3 separate regions of the Homo sapiens genome follow, and all the other regions are linked to region 3. The links are contacts of gene promoters, found by promoter capture Hi-C in human tissues and cell types (Jung and others, 2019). All regions are on one chromosome and are shown on one strand. Each heading gives the region's core, a stretch centred on a gene start or on the middle of the fragment in contact. The rest is flanking DNA. Distances are from core to core; before and after follow the strand shown. Region 1 has its middle 51 kb from the start of SMARCA5-AS1. Region 2 overlaps SMARCA5 (SNF2 related chromatin remodeling ATPase 5). Region 3 holds the start of FREM3 (FRAS1 related extracellular matrix 3).

What was found. The method cuts DNA at HindIII sites, captures the fragments that hold promoters and counts their contacts. A contact is called where the count stands out against the background at its distance.
Region 1: a contact is called between a fragment that was not itself captured here and the fragment with the promoter of FREM3 in region 3, in 1 of the 25 tissues and cell types used here (mesendoderm cells).
Region 2: a contact is called between a fragment that was not itself captured here and the fragment with the promoter of FREM3 in region 3, in 1 of the 25 tissues and cell types used here (H1 embryonic stem cells).

The regions. Positions count from the first base shown.
Region 1 is chr4:143,563,588-143,568,465 of GRCh38, reverse strand. No RefSeq gene overlaps it. Among named protein-coding and RNA genes, the nearest start is that of SMARCA5-AS1, 51 kb to the right of the region's middle. The HindIII fragment of the contact is 3,943 bases long and covers 200-4,142 here.
Region 2 is chr4:143,539,931-143,545,035 of GRCh38, reverse strand. It overlaps SMARCA5 (SNF2 related chromatin remodeling ATPase 5), which reads right to left. Exons shown (of 24, transcript NM_003601.4): 14 at 4,541-4,673; 15 at 1,379-1,527; 16 at 1,064-1,183; 17 at 189-299. Among named protein-coding and RNA genes, the nearest start is that of SMARCA5-AS1, 28 kb to the right of the region's middle. The HindIII fragment of the contact is 3,394 bases long and covers 16-3,409 here.
Region 3 is chr4:143,698,496-143,703,600 of GRCh38, reverse strand. FREM3 (FRAS1 related extracellular matrix 3) reads left to right here and starts at 2,926. Exons shown (of 8, transcript NM_001168235.2): 1 at 2,926-5,105. The coding sequence starts at 2,926. RefSeq lists an enhancer at 2,902-3,559. The HindIII fragment of the contact is 26,872 bases long and covers 1-5,105 here.

The DNA of each region.
Region 1 (4,878 bases), core at 922-3,421, 130 kb after region 3:
CTGACATCTACCTATGAGCATTAACATGAGCCCAAAGTTTCCCTATATCCTCCTTTGGGGCAAATAAGAAGCAGGTTAGACAGCTGTAGAAGAGAAAAAAGACATACAGCCAAATGTGTAAAGCTTTGAAAACTGCTGTCTTAGTCCATTTGTGTTGCTATAAAGGAACACCTGAGGCTGGGTAATTTATAAAGAAAAGTTTATTTGGCTCACAATTCTGCAGGCTGTACAGGAAGCATGGCACCAGCATCTGTTTCTGGTGAGGCTTCAGGAAGCTTTCAATCATGGCAGAAGGTGAAGGGGAGCTGGTGTGTCACATGGCAAGAAAGGAAAAAGGGGGATGAAGGTGCCACACTCTTTTAAACAACAAGTTCTCCTGTGAACAAACAGAACAAGAACTCATTCATTCTGTAAGAAATGCACCAAGCCATTCTTGAGGTATCCACCTCACAACCCAGACACCTCCAGCCAAGCCCTGCCTTCAGCACTGGGGACCAAATTTAAACATGAGATTTGGAGGGAACAAATACCCAAACTATATCATTCTACCCCTTCCCTCCCAAATCTAATGATCTTCTCACACTGCAAAAAAGAATCATCCCTTCCCAATAGTCCCCCAAAATTTTAACTCATTCCAAGCATCAGCTCAAAAGTCCAATCTGAGACTGAGCATGGTGGCTCACACCTGTAATTCCAGCACTTTGAGAAGCCAAGGTGGGCAGATCACTTGAGGTCAGGAGTTCGAGACCAGCCTGGGCAACATGGTGAAATCTGTCTCTACTAAAAATATAAAAATTAGTGAGGTGTGGTGGCACACACCTGTAATTGCAGCTACTTGAGAGGCTGAGGCAAGAGAATCACTTGAACCTGGGAGGCAGAGGCTTCAATGAGCTGAGATCATGCCACTGCACTCCAGCCTGGGTGACCAAGTGAGACCCTTAACTCAAAAGAAAAAAAAAAAAAAAAAAAAAAAGGTCCAAAAGGTCCAATCTGAGACTCAAGGAAAGTTCCTTCCATCTATAAGCCTGTAAGATCAAAAACAAGTTATGAGAATTAAAAACAAAAATTATGTGATCATCTCAACAGATGCAGAAAAAGCATTTGACAAAACCCAGCATCCCTTTATGATCAAAACCCTCAGCAAAATCGGCATGAAAGGGACATAGCTCAAGGTAATAAAAGCCATCTATTATAAACCCATAGCCAACATTATACTGAAAGGGGAAAAGTTGAAATCATTCCGCCTGAGAACTGGAACAAGACAAAGATGCCTACTTTCACCATTTCTATTCAACATAGTACTGTAAGTCTAGCCAGAGGAATCAGACAAGAGAAATAAATAAAGGGCATCCAAATTGGTAAAGAGGAAGTCAAGCTGTCACTGTTCACCAATGATATGATCATATACTTAAAAAATCCTAAAGACTCATGCAGAAACCTCCTAGATCTGATCAATGAATTCAGTAAAGTTTCAGGATAGAAAATCAATACACACAAATCAGTACCACTGCTATACACCAACAATGACCAAGCTGAGAATCAAATCAAGAACTCAACCCCCTTTACAACAGCCACAAAAAAAATAAAATAAAATACTTAGGAATATACCTACCAAGGAGATGAAAGATCTCTACGAGGAAAAACTACAAAACACTGCTAAAAGAAATTGTGGATGATACAAACAAATGGAAACACATTCCATGCTCATGGATTTGAAGAATCAATATTGTGAAAATAACCATACTGCCGAAAGCAATTTACAAATTCAATGCAATTCCCATAGAAATACCATCATCATTCTTCACAGAACTACAAAAAACAATCCTAAAATTCATATGGAACCAAAAAAGAGCCCACATAGCCAAAGCAAGACTAAGCAAAAAGAACAGATCTGGAGGTATCACATTACCTGATTTCAAACTATAGTACAAGGCTATAGTTACCAAAACAGCATGGTAGTGGTATAAAAATAGGCTCATAGACCAGTGGAATGGAATAGAGAACCCAGAAATAAAGCCAAATACTTACAGCCAACTGATCTTCGACAAAGCAAACAAAAACATAAAGTGGGGAAAGGACACCCTATTCAACAAATGGTGCTAGGATAATTAGCAAGCCACAAGTAGGAGAATGAAACTGGATCCTTATCTCTCACCTTATGCAAAAATTAACTCAAGATTGATCAAGAACTTAAATCTGGCCAGCTGTGGTGTCTCACGCCTGTAATCCCAGCACTTTGGGAGGCCAAGGCAGGCGGATCACGAGGTCAGGAGATCGAGACCATCCTGGCTAACACAGTGAAACCCCGTCTCTACTAAAAAATCCAAAAAATTAGCTGGGCATGGTGGCAGGTGCCTGTAGTCCCAGCTACTAGGGAGGCTGAGGCAGGAGAATGGCATGAATCTGGGAGGTGGAGCTTGCAGCGAGCAGAGATCGCGCCACTGCACTCCAGCCTGGGTGACAGAGCGAGACTCCATCTCAAGAAAAAAAAAAGAACTTAAATCTAAGACCTGAAATCATAAAAATTCTAGAAAATACATCGAAAAACTCTTCTAGACATTGGCTTAAGCCAAGATCCCAAAAGCAAATGCAACAAATAGAAAGATAAATAGGCAGGACCTAATTAAACTAAAAAACTTCTGCACAGCAAAAGAAATAGCAGAGTAAACAGACAGCCCCAAGGGAAAAAAGACAAATACTCCTATCAAAGAGTGGACTAAGGATATGAATAGACAATTCTCAAAAGAAGACATGCAAATGGCCAACATCGGAAAAATTGTTCAGCATCACTAATGATCAGGCAAATGCAAATCAAAACCACAATGCGATACCACCTTACTCCCACAAGAATGGCCATAATTAAAAAATCAAAAAATAACAGATGTTGGTGTGGATGTGGTGAAAAGTAGAACTGCTGTTTGATCCAGCAATCCCAGTCTTGGGTATCTACTTAGAGGAAAAGAAATCATTATATGAAAAAGACACTTGCACATGCATGTTTATAGCAGCACAATTCACAACTGCAAAAATATGGAACTAGCCTAAATGCCCATCAACCAATGAGTGGATAAAGAAAATGTGGTATATAGATACCATGGAATGCTACTCAGCCATAAAAAGGAATGAAATAATGGCATTCACAGCAACCTGGAAAGAGACCATAATTCTAAGTGAAGTAACTCAGGAATGGAAAAACAAACATCGTATGTTCGTATGTTGTAAATGAGAGCTAAGCTACGAGGATGCAAAGGCATATATAAGAGTGACATAATGGACTCTGGGGACTTGGGGGAAGGGTTGCGGGGGTGGTGAGGGATAAAAGAGTACACATTGGGTACAGTGTACACTGCTTGGGTGACAGGTGCACAAAAATCTCAGAAATCATCACCAAAGAACTTTTTCATCCAACCAACCAGCACCTGTTCCTCCAAAACTATTGAAATAAAAAAAAAAAAAAACAGGCTGAGCATGGTGGCTCACACCTGTAATCCCAGCACTGTGGGAGGCCAAGGTGGGTGGATCACGAGGTCAGGAGTTCGAGACAAGCCTGATCACCATGATGAAACCCTGTCTCTACAAAAACAAAAAACAAACAGAAACAAGTAGTATCTGTTGATATTGTAAAGAGCAAATCAAACTACTGTTATAGCACATGTGGTTTTCTAATGAGAAAATGCTTATAAAGTATGTCTAGAGGGGAAAATCCTGCTCACTTAAATAGGATAAATTATATCTTCCAGAGGTCCTAATAAGAGTGAGTGAAGAACAATGAGTCAGGGACCCCAAGAAGATACTGAGTTATAATTACCATGTCCATATTAACAACATAAAAGAAAACTTATAATTTAGATGACTAATAAGGCCTTTCATTCTTTCCTACCACTTTCAGGTTTCTCTTACTGTTTCCGGGGTGTTAGTGTTGAAAATAATGATTCTTAGGCACTTTTACAGAATAGCAATATTTAGTAACCACGATTTGGTATAAAAGGATATCAGGTTAATTTATATACAATTTTGCAAGAAAAGTGTGGTAACTTACTGATCTTTTTCTGAAACATACACGAGCCACAAGAAATGCTAACAATTCTGTATAGTATAGCAGTTCGCCTCTCAGTTGTGTCTTATGCACTGCCATGTTTATACATGGGATCCTAACCTTTTAGACTGAAATACATTTAAAAAGTTATAATCTTCAGGTCTCAGAAACAACATATTTAGTTTATATATTTTCTTTCCATTAAGAAAAGGTTTAGCATTTGAGTAAGAACATGACACATTCTGCTTTCTTAATATCATATTGTCTTTAGCATATAACCACCTTTAGATTAAAAACCTGGAGGAAAATGGTTATTTGCCAAAAAATAATTTTCTTCCCTCAACATTTAGGTGAAAACACAAGGCACAAAGTGAAATACAGCCTGGAAGAATATTTATAGAAAGACAGAATTGTATAGAAAGGTATAGAAAGACAGAATTGCCTGACATAAAAATTATTTTAGAATATAAAACATAATTTTAGAAAATGATAAATATGATGGGGTATAATTATTTATTCATAATTCTGGAAAAGTAATAAAAATACATTCACTATATTTAACCAAAAGCATAAACATTCTTTTAAAAAGTAGTACTTGTTATTCATTATGTGCCTTTTTAAACTAATTCAATTATCTTTACTGTATATGATTTTCTCTATATAGATTTCTATTCTGTATGTTACATTCTATTTTTTACTTACAAGCAAATCATTTTTTAAACTCAAATGTGTTAACTCTCTTGAAGTCATGTGCTATCAATAAATAATAAATAATATTGAGAATATTACCTTGAAAAATCAAAAAAAAAAAGAAAACAAGTTATGTTCTTCCAAGATACAAT
Region 2 (5,105 bases), core at 463-2,962, 160 kb after region 3:
GGGAGGCGGAGGTTGCAGTGAGCTGAGATCGCACCACTGAACTCCTGGTAACAGAGTGAGACTCTGTCTCAAAAAAAAAAAAAAAAAAGAAACACAAAATCTAATTATCAATCTTTTTGCAAGAATATATGAAAAAAATTACATTTTCAAAATTTTTAGATATTTTTATGCTGTGTCAGTCAACTCACCTTGGGTGCTTTAGGTTCACTAACACGAAGAGCTTCCCTGAAATATGCATCAACGGCATAGTTGGCTTTTCTTTCTCGTTTAGGTGGTTCAATCCACTCTGTGAATGCAATCTAGCACATGGGAAACAACTCAAATCACCAACTTTTATTATACACAGTAACAAATCATCATCAAGAAGGATGTTTGTAAATGTAAAGATATTCACAAAATCCTGGGCTATAAGCTCTATGAGGGTGGAGACTATGATACTTTGCTCAATATTATGTATATAATTAACACGAGACAGTGTCTAGTCAACAGAGTAAGCATTCAGTATTTCTTGCTTAAAGGAACAACTGTTAAATGAGGGAGAAATGCTACAGAATGTTTGGTATAAATCTAAACTAGGAGAAAAATGTAGACACATAATTAGCCTACAAAAAATTCTGAAGATATAGACCTAAATATTAACAAGAAAAACACTGGGTAGAATTATTTTTTTCTTCTAATCTCTGGGTATTTTTCAATTTATCTCTATATTACCAAGTATTACTTATGAAGTTAAGAAATTTTTCCCTTTATTACCAGCCAATTCTGCTGTTTAAAATAAAATGAATCAGGTTACCATCCCAAATTACTATTCATCCCATACAAGAATATATTTCACTGTAAACATATACCACAAACTTCATTACAAAAACTTTAAAAATATTTCAGAGCTTACCAACTGAAAAACTGGCATTAAATTTTACATAATGATGAAAATATTCAGATGTGAATAAGCAAAAATGACTACTGTTTTAAGCAAAATTATAAGACATTACAGTAACACTTAAAATTCCAAGTTTCCAGTAAAATAAAGCTTTCATGTAACCCAAACCTATTTCTAAATTACCTTTTGTTTTTCTCTATAGTCTTCTCCTTCGAAGTTATAAACACTTGACTCTGTATCCATTGTAAAGTTTCTAAGTGAACTTTCGCCCATCTTGGAGAGCTTTTCATTCATCTCTGCAGTCTAGAGAACAAAACAATCAGCTTCTTAGATTCACAGCAAAGAAAGCATGAAAACTGCAGTCAAAATAAATTAACTTCACGTACACAAAAGCTTCTCTTTAAGGAAATAAAATTATTTATCATCAATGTAACAAATATTTCCTGTTTCTGGTCTAAAACATTCTATATTAAAAGCATTATTTAATCTACATCTCACCTTCTTTGCACCTCTTTCCAAAATACCATCGATATCTTCATCAGTGATCTCACTTTCCTTTGAAGCAAACACATGTGTTGCTCCATGTCTAATCATTTGAAGCATTTCATCTTTCCCAATTTTGTTCAGATTCTGATCCACAAGCCTCCCTGAAAAAAGATTGTGTTGTATAATGTTAACTGAACAGACTTTATTTTACTGGAAACTTGAAACTTTAAATGTAAGGTTTAATGCTTTATAATTTTATCTCAAATGTCAATCATTTCTGTTTACTGTTTATTCACATCTAATAATTTTGATTTTTGCACTAAATTTAATGCCAAATTTTCAGTTGGTAAGCTACAAAACATTCCTAAACCTTATGTATTATATAATGAAACCTGCTGTATACTGTGCCAACGAAATATAATCTTTTGTGAAAGCTGCATATGAAAAATTTTCAAAAACCTACAAGTTTCAACAGATGGAAGCATTATACACACAAGTTTCTGATGAGCAGAAAGGTGTTATTAACTAATACTCCCCAAATCAGCTTTTCTCCTTAGAAAAGTAAAGTAAAAAATCCTTCACCTAGGCCAAACTTTACACAGAACTGAAATATGTAACATCAGTTTCTTTTTAAAGAAAACTTCCAGAAGAACTGAAACTCCTAAAAACTTATTTTATTCGTTTATTTTTTTGAGATGGAGTCTTGCTCTGTTGCTTAGGCTGGAGTGCAATGACAGGACCATAGTCACTGCAGCCTTCAACTCCCTGCTCAAGCCATTCTCCTGTCTCAGCTTCCCAAGTAGCTAGGACTAAAGGCATGCACTACCACACCTGGTGAGAAAATGTATCTGGATCATCGAAGAAACTCACCATTAATAAATTAATAAATATTTTCAGTTGGCAGGAGTTTGGACAACCTTGTAATTTTTCAAAAATACAGGTATAAAAAAACAAACAAAAACCCAGAAAGACTTGTTTTCACCCTCCTCAAGGGTCACTCACATACACCTAAACAAAGCTTTGATTTTTATATGCCAACCAACTTGTAAGTAAGTGGAAAAAGATCCAAGTTTTCAACAACTTCTTTAAATACTTGTATCATGGTTTGGGACCCATAATAGGATATACAGCCAAACATCCATGACTTTGTAAGTGAGGAGATATCCACAAGGTATGTTTCCTTGGATTGGATGCTACCATTGCTACCAAAATGTTCTTATGCTTATACAAACTACTTCCAAGTTGGGCAGGAAGGTTCCGGAACCTTCAGATGTAAAGTGCTTGTGTACTCTCGTTTTTAATTATGTCCCTCAAATAAAAAACAGTAACACAAAGGTATGCACTTAAGGCTTGCTGTTTGACTAACATGTCTACAAACGGCACAAGAAAGCTATTAGCCTGAAGGTTTGCTCCAAAAATTGCCACAGTAAATATGAAGTAAAAAAACCTCAAGATTTCTAAATTAATTATGAATCAATTAAGGTCTTTTTTATCTTTAAAAAAAGTGTTTTGGACAGGCGTGGTGGCTCATACCTGTAATCCAGCACTTTGGGAGGCTGAGGTGGGTGGATCGCCTGAGGTCAGGAGTTCAAGACCAGCCTGGCCAACAAAGTGAAACCCTGTCTCTACTAAAAATACAAAAAAATTAGCCAGGTGTGGTGGCGGGCATCTGTAAATCCAGCTACTCAGGAGGCTGAGGCAGCAGAATTGCTTGAACCCAGGAAGCGGAGGTTGCAGTGAGCCGAGATCGTGCCATTGCACTCCAGCCTGAGTAACAAGAACAAAACTCCATCTCAAAAAAAAAAAAAGTGTTTCATGGATGAAAATAACTGAGAACAAGAAACACACGGCAGGTGTATTTCAAAACACATGGATGTGTGAAGAAAAATAAAACATTAGCCATTATATCACCCATGAGATAACATCACGGGGTGGCAGCCTCGAGAAGTCCCCAGAGACTTTTCTAATTAAACACTTAAGAGTTAACAAAGTTCTTGATCCCCCTTGAGTCACTTCCCAGCTGTATGTACAATGAACAAGTAATTTAACCTCTCAAAAGCCTTTATCTCTGATGCTAACATCTCAAGTTGGCATGAAGACTAAAGGAGAAAATGAAATGTTAAGTATATAGCACACTGCCTGGCACAAAGTAAACACTTTATTAAGGGAAACGATTTGTAAAAATAAGCAATAATTTATTGTCTTCAGGTATGCAGACATATGGCTAACACTATGAATAGCATTAGGGATACCAAAGACATGTACAATACTCTCTTACATGGACATCAGAGACTGACAAAATCAAGATACCTACATAATCAGTAAACAATGTAACAGTATGCCTTTCAGCTTTATAGACAGATAGTAAATACATGCTCACAAATGCAGTTACAAAGGAAACCAATGCACACTTGAAATTATTAAGTTTCCCACCCCTTTTCTTGAATTTTATATTTCCCATCATCAACTTTATAGTAGGCTTCATGAAAACATAAATTATGTCATCCTTAAAAGCTGATCTGGAATGAGAACTTAAGTTTCCTTCAATTGATCCAAAATAAAATCCCACTCTCACCCCCTACTCCTACTTATACCCTTGTTTACTTCATCTCTCCCTCCCAACTAAATTGTAAACTCTTTGAAAGTAAGAATACTTGTTTGTTCCATTTACCACTGAATTCTCAGCACCAAGAACGGTGCCTAGCATCTGGTGGGTACTCAGTAAATTGCAGACAAGAAAAAAGAATAAAATCAGGCTCTTTGATTTTTATTTCTTCAGTTTTCCCCACAGTAATCAAGAGTAGTTAGTACATATAAATCATTAACCACCACACTGAATGTCAGATATTTTATATACATTATCCCCTTTAATCCTTTAAAATCCTTAAGTGTAGTTATTTTTATCCCCACTTAACAGATGAGGAAATGGGTTCATGTAACCAGAGAGAACTGCTAACTGGCAGACTCATTATTCAAACCTCAACTGTCCTGAGCCCAAATCCATCTTTTTAATGACAAAACTAAAGTTTACTGTATTTGCAATACAAGTCATCTCTACTGGCTGCAAGCTTGACTCAATGGATGCTTAGTAACAAGAATCTTCTAAGACGATTTTCAAACAAAAACAGGTTGTGTCAATCCAACTTGGTAAAGTTTTAAAGTTCCATGGCTTACCTTGTTGAATGACTATTGAATCCAGTCTGAGTTTCATCTCAGCACGTTCTACTATTCTTTCTTCTACAGTGTTATCAGTTATAAAGCGGAACACTCTGACTGTCTTAGTCTGCCCAATTCTATGTGCTCGGTCCTAAATAAATTACCATGTTATTTTGAATTTAGTTTAAAAGTCACATAAATAACACTGAAATGGGTACACTGAGAAAAAAAATTAAAATATTCTGAAATATAAAACTTTTAAAAATTTGTAATAACACTGCATCTGTAAGGAATCAGATGAATTCTGCTAGGTTACACTGAGATAAAACACATAATGTCTCCAAACAATATACAACATTATAATTTTTAAGTCTGATGAGGAAAGATTTTAAGTCTTTTTTCCTAGGTTTAAATTCAAAATGTTTTTCTATCTAAATCAAACCCAAATTGTCACTGCTATCAGGCAAAGAAGTGACATGAAACAACTTAGCAAACAACACAAAAATTCTAACCTTTAAATATTACCCAATTAACTATATACAAGTAGTCAAACTAATCTGAATATGAATTTGTTTTACTTTTG
Region 3 (5,105 bases), core at 1,677-4,176:
GGCACTATTCAAAGCATTTTATGTGTAGTAATCTGTTTAATTCTTATGATAGCTGTATGAAGTGGGATCTGTTACTATATATAAATTAGAAATATGACACATAACCAGCTTTCAGGGGTTTTTCACAATGATCCCATAATGTAGGGCTTATGAAAACCTTGGGCATCCTTCCCACTTAATGACAGACTTGATGCAGCTCAGGTTTAAAGAATAAATTTGGATTAATGAGAGAATGAAGTACAATATGGATAGTGAAATTACCCTGTGAAAAGAAAATTTGGGTAATATAAATATTTGGCTAGAAATCAAATTTGAATTTTCTAAACAGAGCTTCCACTGACCTCTAATGAACTGGCATATTCTGAGGAAAGACGAAAGAAGTCATCCTACGCTTGCACTGGTTTCTCCTGCCTGACACCTAAACTGCAAAGTATGTCGATCACTACTTCTGATTCCCTTTCATTTTTCTATTTATTCATTCATTCAATCAATCAATCAATCAACAAATACTTATTACATACCTGCTATGTGCCAGTCCTTGGCATAAGCACTAAGTATCAATGGTGAACATTACATACTCCCTGCTCTCCTGTAGCTTAAAGCCAAACAGGGAAGACAGACACTAATCGACCTGTACATGAATAGATAACTACAGAGATTTTGCAACATGGTTTGAAGAGCATTTGAAAAATGCTTCCTGAAGAAATGAGACTTAGACTGGGAGGTAGAAAAGAAACCAGAAAGGTGTGGCAACATTAACAATATGAGAGATAGTTATAGGAGTTTGCCAGATGGAAGTTACTAATGACCTTAGTGAAAGTTTTTTTGGTGTGTCTAAGGTGGAAACCAGACTGGGAGTGCCCTAAAGAGACAATGAGTGAGAGGTGAAGAAATGGAGACAGTAATGAAATAAAAAACTCTTTTAAGACATTTAATGGTGAAAAAGAGGTGAAGGGAATATATGCTGAAGAGGGAGGGTCAGAGGACAAAAATATAAACATAGTAGTTCAGCTTTCTGTTATCTCAGCTGCCCACATCCATCTCTACTTCCAGTGAAAATAGCATAGAAAAAAAGGTACTTGTCCCAAAGTGAGTGAGTGTGCTTGAAAAAGAACCAAAACTGCACTCCTATAGGAATATTCATTTGGTAACTTTAATATATGCAAACTAATAAAAGTTCTACCATTAAAAACCCATCCTTTGGACAAGGCAGCAGCTTTATAAAATATAATATAATGACTCATTTACAATGAAACTTTACCTGTGTTTCAATTAGAAATATATTTTTAAATAATATTTTTCCAGATACACTGAACTAATACTGTATCATTAGGCTAAACACATATTGATTCAAACTTATTATCTCAAAATTCTGTTATATGAACAAATCTGTGTGCTAATGGGGCACACTAACATTCAACTAAAGTGAATTGTATAGACCCATAGCATTTCACTGGATGATTAAATTAAATGTTTAGAGAGAAAATTAAATCTTTCAAGTCACTAGCAGATTATTCTTGCCCTGAAAATCAGCTGATGCCGTTGCTGCTGTGAATAAAACAGGCATTTGTAACACGGTAAAAAACTAAAAGAATAACATGGGGATAACATTTAAAGATTTCTATTCCCCCTTGAAGCCATTTCTATCAATATAGTTTGTAGACATCTATTTTTACTGTCATCAAAAAGTCTCTCACATTCACATTAATTTTATAAGGAAGCACGTTACTATTACTACTACTTTATTTATAGAAAAAGATTACTCTGCACTGTAACTAAATTGGCTATTTTAAAACTTAAAAAATTAATAGGATTCTGTTAAGTACCTAACACTACATCCATAGTCACCTTCATCTGAAAGCCATGAAGAGACTGATTCCAGGTGTTAAATGATTGAGCCACAGAAATTGATCCAAGTATTCTGCTACTGTTTCCTTTGACATCCTCCCCTCTGGCTACTGTCTACGAAGAAAGTAATTAGAAAACAGCATGTCTAATAAACTAACAGGCAAGTCATTGTTGATCAGATATGGAAACCACATTCTAAGAAAACGAAAGGAAGCCGAGCCGCACACCTGATTTTGTTATGTGAGACCCAATGACAAAAAAAAAAAAAAAAAAAAAAACCCAGATTACAAGCTGTTCAAGTAAGTTTGGGTGCTGATTTTCTTTTTCAAAACCTGAGCAGAAGAAAAACGTCAGGGTTGTTTGGAAGCACCGAATTACAAGATCCTGAATAAGCTGCTTCATCAGACAGACAGCTAGAAAATCCTATTTGCAAAATAGCTCCCACCAGCTTCTTTTATGTCCGAAGTGAGACTCAGTTTTTGGCTAGAAGATACACTCCTGTCAGCGGTAAGGAAGAGGAATGGTGTCTCTCCCCCTTTTCAGAAACACCAATCCCTGGATGAATGGACAACAGGAGCTCAATCTCACAGACGCAGGACTGACCCGAGTACAGTCACCGTCTCTCTCCCAACCCTGAGGGACAATCCCTTTGTGGCACCTGGGGAAGAGAGTATCCAGACAGCTGGTCGGAGTCTGGCAGCGCGGGCAGCAGTGCGGCGGCCACGGCTCCCGGCGAGAAGGTGTGTAAGGTAGGCTGGGTGAAGCGCCCAGGAGCGGAGGGGACAGCGCTGCACCCTCGCTAAGTCTCGCCGCGCTGGGCGCGTATCTGGGGTCCCCAGAAGCCAGCAGAGAGAGACTTGCGACCGGGGCTGAGCAGGAAGTGGGCAGAGCCCCTTCCCCCGCTGCCGTTACCTGCAGCAGCCGAAGCGCAGCCGCTGGCTCTTGCTGGATCCGCAAGTCGGCTACCGACTGGACAGCAGCTACTGCTTCCACTGCCTGCACCTGCCGCTCAGCAGATCCCTCTTTGCACAGGGCACCCCACCCCGGGAATCCCAACGCCAGGAGCCATCCGTGGCCATGGCGGGGGCTTCTCGGCACCCGACTGGGACGCCCCGGCAGCTCCTTGTGGCGCTCGCCTGCCTGCTCTTGAGTCGCCCCGCGCTGCAGGGACGGGCATCCTCACTTGGGACCGAGCCCGACCCGGCGCTTTACCTGCCCGCCCGGGGTGCGCTTGACGGCACTCGCCCCGACGGCCCCAGCGTGCTGATTGCCAACCCTGGACTCCGGGTGCCCCTGGGTCGTTCCCTTTGGCTCGACCCGCTCCGGGATCTGGTGATTGGAGTGCAGCCGGGGGACCGGTGCGAAGTCACGGTACTGGACGCCCTGCCGCGGCTCAAGGGCGCGCTCTCCCCGCGCCGCTTCCCCTGCACCTTCGGGCCCCGCCAAGTCCAGTACACTCACTTCGGCTCCCACAGCCCCGGACGCGCCCGGGTGCTGCTGCAGCTGCGCTACGACGCCCCGACTCACACTCTGGTGCTGCCCTTCACGCTGGCGGTGGACTTGGTCTTCTCCCAGCTGGAGCTGGTGACGCGTAACAGGCCTTTGGTAGTGGAGAAGCTGCGAAGCTGGAGCCGCGCCATAGACAGGAGAGTGCTGGACTTCGCCTCCCTGAAGTCTGGAGCCACGGCCACCCGCAGGTGCCGGCTTACCCCACTTCCTCACGAGGACGGCCCCCTGCCCAAGTACGGGCGCTTGGTGGACGCGGTGGGGGCCCCTCTCCCCAGGGGCAAGGGCGTAGACTGTGAGGCTTTCCTCCGTGCTGGGGTGCGCTATCAGCACACAGCCACCTCCTCGCCCAACCGTGACTACGTGCCCATGATGGTGGAGCTGCTGGGGCCTGAGGGCCAAGACGCTGGGTCCGCGGGTGTGCTGGTCCGCGAGCACTTCCAGCTGCTCGTGAGGATCCGCGGCGGAGCCGAGAACACACCGCCCAGGCCCAGCTTCATGGCCACGATGATGATGGAGGTGGATCCACTGGTGCTGACAGCCCTGACGCCTGACGCACTGGCCGCGGAGGACGTCGAGTCAGACCCTGGTGACCTGGTGTTCAACATTCTGAACGCCCCCACTCACCCACCAGGGCACCCGGGGCAACAGGGCTACGTGGTCAGCACCGACGACCCTCTAGGGCTTCCAGTCTCCTTCTTCACCCAGCAGGAGCTGAGGGAGCTGAAGATTGCCTATCAGCCCCCTGCAGAGAACTCCCATGGGGAGCGCCTCTTTCAGCTGGAGCTGGAGGTGGTGGACGGAGACGGCGCCGCCTCAGACCCCTTTGCCTTCATGGTGACAGTGAAATCCATGAATACTCTGGTCCCAGTGGCTAGCCATAACAGGGGACTTGTGCTTTTTGAAGGTCAGTCAAGGCCCTTGTCCAGCACCCACAGCATTCCTATCAGTGATAAAGATAACCTGGAAGAGGTGAAAATGGCTGCAGTCAGGGGCTTGAGACATGGGCAGCTGGTGGTGTTTGGGGCACCTGCTGGGTGCAAGTATTTCACACCAGCGGACCTGGCAGCAGGGCGAGTGGTGTATCAGCATGATGGCAGCAACACCTACAGTGACAATATCATCTTCCGGATGGAGGACGGGCACCACCAAGTGGACTTCCTCTTTCCCCTCACCATCCTACCTGTGGATGATGAACCACCAATGGTCAATACTAACACAGGACTCTCACTCACTGAAGGGCAGGTGGTCCAGATCTCTCCCTTTGTACTGAGTGCTACTGATATTGACTCTGAGGACTCAACCATCCACTTTGTGCTGGAGAACCAGCCCCTAAAAGGAAATGAGGAAGAGCCTCAGTGGGAGTTGGCCCCTGGTTCCTCCCACTCAGGCCACTACCTGGGGGACCTGTTGCTGCAGCAGGCTGAACTACCTCTCTCAACTGAAGATGAAGACTGGCACTACATGGAAAAGGAAGGGCTTTATGAGAAAGTGGTGACTGAGTGGCTACAGAGAGACATAATGGAAGGGAGACTCTTCTACCGCCATCTTGGACCACACAGCCCTCAATCTGTAATGGTCCAGCTGGCTTTCCATGTGCAGGATGACCATGACCCACCCAATCTCTCCAAACAGCACATTTTCACCATCAAGGTCCAACCAGTGGATATACTGAGTCCACAGCTGTATCCAGGAACTACACTAGAAATGACTGTACAAGAATACCAACTCACTCACTTCCAGAAGAATTT